2 separate regions of the Homo sapiens genome follow, and region 2 is linked to region 1. Evidence: promoter capture Hi-C in human tissues and cell types (Jung and others, 2019). All regions are on one chromosome and are shown on one strand. The core of a region is centred on a gene start or on the middle of the fragment in contact, and the rest is flanking DNA. Distances in the headings are between cores, read along the strand shown. Region 1 holds the start of MED27 (mediator complex subunit 27). Region 2 overlaps MED27 (mediator complex subunit 27).

Evidence for each region. Contacts are between HindIII fragments. The study calls those that stand out against the background at their distance.
Region 2: a contact is called between a fragment that was not itself captured here and the fragment with the promoter of MED27 in region 1, in 1 of the 25 tissues and cell types used here (dorsolateral prefrontal cortex).

Annotation. Positions count from the first base shown.
Region 1 is chr9:132,078,184-132,081,705 of GRCh38, forward strand. MED27 (mediator complex subunit 27) reads right to left here and starts at 1,684. Exons shown (of 8, transcript NM_004269.4): 1 at 1,459-1,684. The coding sequence starts at 1,661. RefSeq lists an enhancer at 1,581-1,860. The HindIII fragment of the contact is 14,332 bases long and covers 1-3,522 here.
Region 2 is chr9:132,030,969-132,034,490 of GRCh38, forward strand. The region is part of intron 2 of MED27 (mediator complex subunit 27); the gene reads right to left. Among named protein-coding and RNA genes, the nearest start is that of MED27, 47 kb to the right of the region's middle. The HindIII fragment of the contact is 4,380 bases long and covers 1-3,522 here.

The DNA.
Region 1 (3,522 bases), core at 434-2,933:
GAGCCAACAAGAGCACATTCCAGGAGTACGTTCTGAGGGGCCAGTCCCAAACTGCCAACAAAAGACTCTCTAGGAACAGCTTCTTATGCCACATTCATTTTGGAATCATCAGCCACCTTCTTCTTGGCACTACTGTACAAAGATTTAAGAAGGCAAAAGGATAATGTCAGCACTCTTAAAGTTTCTATTTAAAATGGTGAAGGGTTATAATATCCTGAACATTACAAAGGGAAGTAACTCGGAGAGAAAATGGAAAGAAAACAGAAGATAGGGAAGAATAGCCAGTGCATCCCCTGAAGCAGAGAAAGTATTAACTGGTGCTCGGCGCGGTGCCAGAGAACAGCAAGCGGATGTGGGCGTTGAGGAGGGCTGTGTGATTTACGGCAACTACTTAGGGGGAAAACAAAAAGGCACCCATCATTTGGCCACCTCCTCCTCCTCCTCCTCCATCCTACCTCCTCTTTCCATCTGGTTACTAAGGAGACCAAGTTGAAAAAACAAAAATCCAACCAGTCCAGAAATCAAAGGATGACTAGCTCACCAAATGCTTTCCCCTACTCAGGTCAGTTCTGAGAAGTAAAAGGCAAAAATCCTGAAATTCTAACCTTCCTGGGAAGGACTGACTCTCTTATAAAACAGAAGGCAAGTTCAGGACCTAAGCAATCAAGAAGTGCCTACTATGTGCCAGGCCCTTTACAAACATCCTCTCATTTAATTCTTACAACACTTAAAAAGTGTAAGTGAAGAAGGTACTTTGTAAGGAAGAGGAGGAAAAGTGGAATCCTTAACCCTAAAAGACTACAAATTAAGAAGCAGGGGCGTTAAGCATAAGTAATTAAACTGGTTAAGAGATTAGAGAGTAGGTCTCTACTGCGGAAGGAACTCCCACAGGAGTGGGAGTGAGGAAACTGATCAGGTGGTTTGGGAGCGGTTAGGGGAAAAGGTGAAGACAGCTCAAGGCCTGGCCGGTCCGTCGTGGTTGCGGGTGGGTGGTGGTGGAACTGATGAAGTCCAAGTTCAGGGCCGGGGAATTGGGGCTAATCAGATCGGGTGCACTTGGGTTTGGAGCCGACTGACCAGGTCCTGTCTGTACTATTACTACATTCGGATCAGACGTGATGGGGCACAGAGGGCCTACAGGTGAGAAACCTGCCAAGCTCAGAGAAGTGGAAGTTCATGGGAAAAGCATGCCTCCTTGTTAGGAATGGAACCGCCACAGAAGAGGTCGAGGATGGCGGAAGACAAACAGGACCAGGAGGCCAGGAGAAGCAAGACGAGAAAGCGGGGATGGTGTTAAGATGTCCCTGAGGGACAGGCAGAGGCTTGGAGAACAAGAAGAGAAAGAACAGGGATCAAGGGAAACGGAGAACAGCCCCTGCCTGGGAAGACTCGAGCGACGTAGGGGCAGGGTCGGAGCGGGGCCGGTCCCCGACCCCGGCCCCTTCAGCCGGTACCTACTTGAGGTCCCGGTTGACCGAATGTAAGTTGTCCTGGAAGTGCGCAATAAAGGCCTTCTCCCGGCCCTCCAGCGTCTCCTTGTTCCGCATCCCATCCTTCAGGCAGTCGAACACCCTGCTCACGCTGGAGCGCAGCGCCTGGATGGCACTAATGGCCTGGGAAAAGGCCTCCAGGTTCACACTGACATTTATCACGTCCGCCATGTTGCCGCCGCCACAGCAGCTCTCCAAAGCCGGCTTCGCAAGCAAAAAAGCCGCGCTCGCTGATGACGTATCTCCGAAGACCTCTGGGAAATGCAGTTCGCGCGGGGCTACCCAGAAAGCACTTTCGAAAAAGGGTTTCCCCTTGAGCTAAACTAATGCATGGGCAGGAAAGTGATTTTTCTCAACTTGGGGAAGTCAGGTTGCACTCCCGGTTTGCTTAATGGTGACAAAGAAATACAGAAAGTTCCCGCATTTCCCCAAACTTGCACTCTGGGGAATCATAGGGAAAAGAATTGCTCAGAGCAATAGTGTAAAAAGGAAAGGAACATAGCCCATTCAATAAAATGAGTCCATATTCATAAATAAAGCGGGGAGAAGGAAAGTTTCTTCTTTCCAATAGAATGCCAGCTCATAAATGCAGAAAGAGTGATGGAATTAGAAAATTGCCATTTGACAGCCATTAGAATAATTGATTCAGATAGAAATCGATGGATGCTAAAACTAGTGGGTGAAAGTGTCAGAAAAATAACAGGCTTTTTAGGTAATCTCAAAGTATCGTCCCCCAAGATGCTTATTAATTAAGAAGAGGAAAATAATGATCCAGAGATTCCACTTCTGGGCATATACCCAAAAGAAGCGAAAGCAGGGACTCAATACCTGTACACATGTTCATAACAGCATTATTCACCAAATAGCCAAAAGGCAGGGGAAACCCAAGTGTCCATAAACTGATGAATAAACAAAGTGTGATACTGGCATACAATGAAAAATTCTTCAGGCTTAAGCAAGAAAATTCTGACATATGCTACCTGGAGGAAACTTGAAGACATTATGCTAAGTGAAATAAGCCAGTCACAAAAAAACAAAATTCTGTGTGACTCCACTTATATGAGGTGTTTAGGGTAGTCAAAATGTTAGAGACAGAAAGTAGAATGGTGGCTGGTTTACAGTGAACACACACCTCTGAAAATAACATACATAGCATAGAGGTTGTGGAAGAAAGAGAAGGTTTGGGATTTAAATAAAACCAACAAAATGTTGGCCAAATCTGGCTTTATGGAAAAATTCAATGTCTCTTTGTCCTGTTGGCTATAGACAGGTTTCTGAAAATTTATTATCTTTTTACTAAAGGGAACCTGCCCAAGTCCTCATGTTCTTTCCTTAGAGGAGCTGGGGTTGCATAGCTTGGAGCAGAGAAGAGGAGAGCAGGAGGCAGATCATGATTGTGACCTTCAACTCACCTTCATGTCAACCCAAGACAAGAGTCCTCCTTGGTTAACTAGTGGCAATAACAATAACCAGTTGTAGGAAGGCTGTAGAGAGGAAGATTTCAGCATAATATTGCAAAGGGCCATATTTAAGTCTGTACTTAAAGAGTACAGACTTGGAAAAGTTTTACAGCTGGATGGTGGTGATGGCCATACAACAATGTGATTGTACTTAATGCCACAGAACTGGACACTTAGAAACAGTGAAAATGGTTGATTTTATATTATGTATATTTTACCAAAAAATTTTAAACAATTCATTAATGTAAACATAAGGGGGGATGGATAGTGACTTAATAGTGACTTCACAGTGGAGAAACATGGCAGACACCAGCTTAACCAAAAGGCCAAGGTCAACATCACCAGTGACGGGACATGTTGTGCACCTCCTGATACAATGCACTGGAAAGAGCACAACATGACCTCCATGATATTCTTGCCAGCAGTGCATAACCTGAATCTAATCAGGACATCAATAGAACTCAAACTGAAAAACGTGACAAAATAACTGACTGACCTATACTTTTTCAAGAAATATCTGTGTCAGGCCATACACTGTGGCTCACACCTGTAATCCCAGCACTTTGGGAGGC
Region 2 (3,522 bases), core at 618-3,117, 47 kb before region 1:
CTACCCTGAACAGAAGGGAAGGTTGGGAGGGTGGGAGAAGTCGATTTTTAAAAAGCAAGCTGAACTGCACTGCAGAATTTCCAAAGACTGAGGAAGTGGGGACACTCGGTGGCCTGGAAGGCCAGGTGTCAAGTAGGCATAAAACAGATGGACTGGTTAAATCTTTCTTGAACACCCAGATCCCTGCTCCATCAGAAGCCAGGTGGTGTCCTCTCTGGAGAGGCTGTCCTAGAGGCTCAGGGTTTAGGGACAGCTGAAAACAGGTGGATAAATCTGCACACTAAATGGTGAGCTACCCTCTACCTCAGCCTTCACCAACAGAAATAGCAATCACAGTATCCTACATGTCTCCACTATAAAAAACATTTCATAGTCATAATAATGTAAAAACCAAGTATCAATTAAAGCAATGCAGTGGGAAGATGGTGGTCTATAAAAGTTAAATCTTCATCTTCCATGGCAGAGGCAACAGATAACTTCTAAAACAGCAGTCTAAGCAGGTTATTTAGGAAAATGTGGGCAAGTATCCAAGGAAAGAGCTAAAAGAGTTAAGAGAAGCCAGGTATGGTGGGGCACACCTGAGTCCCAGCTATTCAGAGAGGTTGAAGTGGGAGATCACTTGAGCCCAGGAGTTACAGTCCAGCCTGACCCCTCCTCTAAAAAAAATAAACAATGAAATACAGACTTAAAAGGAGTTGCCTCTGAGGAGTGGCATAGCAGAGTTGGGCAAGACCAACACATCTGGTATAAATCTTGTAGTATTATTTATTTGCCTTTTAAACTACGTACTTATGTTCCTTGGATGAAAATAAAAACTATACCAGGAAAAAAAAAACAGGGCCTCAAAGTTAAACAGATCCTGAAAATGGAAGCCCCTACACACTACAAAATGTGCTTTATCACCTGGTGACTATTAGTTTACTATAGTAACACTTAATTTTATTTCAAGTTTTACTGCCACAGTTAAAGGTTTTTACAATAGCAGATGCCTTCCCTCCCACACATCAATTAATTTGCAAATTCACTCAAGGTTGTAGAAATAATGAGGTGTGGAGAGAGTTCGTTCCACTGGTGGGCACTGCCATCAGAAGGTGGATGTGGTAGGCGAGGCGCTAAGCTTGGCCGCTGCTAGCTGCATGCCATGGGAGCCTGGGCACGGGGGACGGCTCTGCCACAAGCCCACGAGCCGAGCCCACCTTGGCTGCAAATAAAGATAAAGAACGTAATGCCAACCACCTTGAAAGCTGAAAAACCATAGAAAAATTAGACAGGCAAGGCATTTTAAGTCTCATGAAATAAAATCATGTTTTTAGGCTCCTTTTTATAGGTTCTTATTTGGTGTTTACCGAGAAAGTGAACTTTTTGAGAAGAAATGATGTGGCACTCTGAATGCAACTCTGGTCTGTACTTTGGCAAAACCACCTGTCAAGCCCACACATTTGATTTTTTTTTCTTCTTTCTGAAAGAGCTGAAGTAAACCACTGTTGTTTCAAAACACAGGGGTTGAAAATAGTTACACAGTTTCTGCTCTGCCAAAGAACTGTCTCTTTTCTCATTTTCACTTAAATCTTGTTCTTTAATGACCTAAATGATAAGAGGAACAAGAAGACACATTTTCATTTGCACCTAAGCAAATAGGATTGTAACAGAATGTGTTCGTTCCCAAATGTAGCTCTTAACTAACTTGAGGGGTTGACAGGTCCCAGGAGGCAGAGCCAGTCAGGAAGGAATGCAGAATGCCACAGATCACCAGGGCCCACTTCCTGCTTCCACTGGCTTTAAGTGATGGCTCTTGTCACCTAGCCACTCTCTTGGCCTCCCCTGCCCCTCCCTCTCACAGCCCTGCGCCCAAGCCACTCTTCTCATGGGGATCACCTAGTCCCGCGCTCCACACTAAGCCTCTCTCTAGGTCTATAATAAATTGTCTGAGTGTGAATAAGCATTTCAAAAGGCTTCCTGCTTTGAGAATTCACCTTTCCAACAAATTTAATAGGTGTCTACAACAGCCTGACAGGTAGCAACATTTTTTCTTATCCACAATTGGTCTGAACCAAAAGTAAAATATCACTCAAATATTTTTCCTACCCCGCCAGCTAAAAGCAGCCCCATACATGCTGTTTGTGTCTCTAAACATATCACTCTATTAAGAACGCCTGTCATAGTCTCTGGATTTTGAGGACAATAATTTTCTTTACACAATTATGAAGGCAATCCAAAGCTCCCCTGACATTTTCTGACCTGGTATTGTCTGTAAAGGGCACAGGTTAACAATGTTTAAGAAAAGATCACATACAATATATAAATCACGAAGCTTCCTGGGACATTGTATGGTCCGAGGCTTCGGATTCAATACCACATTACCAAGAAAGAAACTGCTTTTCTTTTCACTTACACTCCATACTGGGCTCAAAAAGCACCATTAAAATGCCAACAAAGGCATTTTTGGATCTACAATCATTTGACATTTTTTTCTAAGAAAATTTAAATTTGAAAAACTTTGGTAAATTTAGAGTCTTGTGAAGTACCACCCGCCTCCCCTTTCACTCCCCTAAAAAGGGCAAGAAAATTCATCATCAAAGGTTACCTCTCCATCGAATGTCATCAGAGTGTGGTATTTCAGCACATACATTTGTGTATATAAACTTCCAACTGTTCTGAGATCTCTGCCATTATTGGCATAACTGGATGAGTTAATAACGGAATGCTGCCTTCCTAAACTCCGGTGTGGATTTGGGCTTTTTGTTTTTGCTTTTGTCAGTGTAACTTAGATCTTTGGTGTTCTGTGTGTCTCCAGATTCTATTTCGCATAAAGGTAAGAGGAAGCCACTTTCTTTCCTTTCTCCACCTCCCTAACACAAGAATCCAAGGACATTCATAACTTGGTTATTAAAAATACACTATTTGTATTTTGAAAGTTCAACCATAATGTATTCCCTTCTTTAAAAATTTTATAGTATCTACACTTTCAATTTGAGATTTTTCATTCATGCCAGGTGAGGCTCTTATGTTCTGTATTAAATGCGAGGCATGTGTGATCAGTACTATTAATAATATAACAGTGCCAATCTCAGAAGCAGCAACACAGCACCAATACAGCCCCGTATGAATAGATGAGGAGTCATGAGTACCGCTGCAATCTTTATTAAACATATGGGAATAAAGAATGTGGCTTACTGCTCTCCCCCTCCCCCAGCTCAAGAATCAAGAGGAATTTTTCCTCTCTTCCCCAAAGGCATAACATATCATTAGGTCTCATAAATATAAACAGATCTGAAGCAGAAAACAAGTGATTACCTTTATTAGATTCAAGGGAGCAAAGAAAGAGGAGTTTAAAAGTGTCCATGGACAAATAAAGATCATAAATTCATCAAAGTATGTCAGACTCAAGGACTGAGGGTCACTAAAGTCACCTACTATCACAATAAGACAAACTCCAGTCCTCACGTCTCCAAGAACTACAACCCTAACAAAGCCTGCCCTTCGCTTTGATGCTATTGCAGCGCTCTGTCCAAGGTCAAAGGG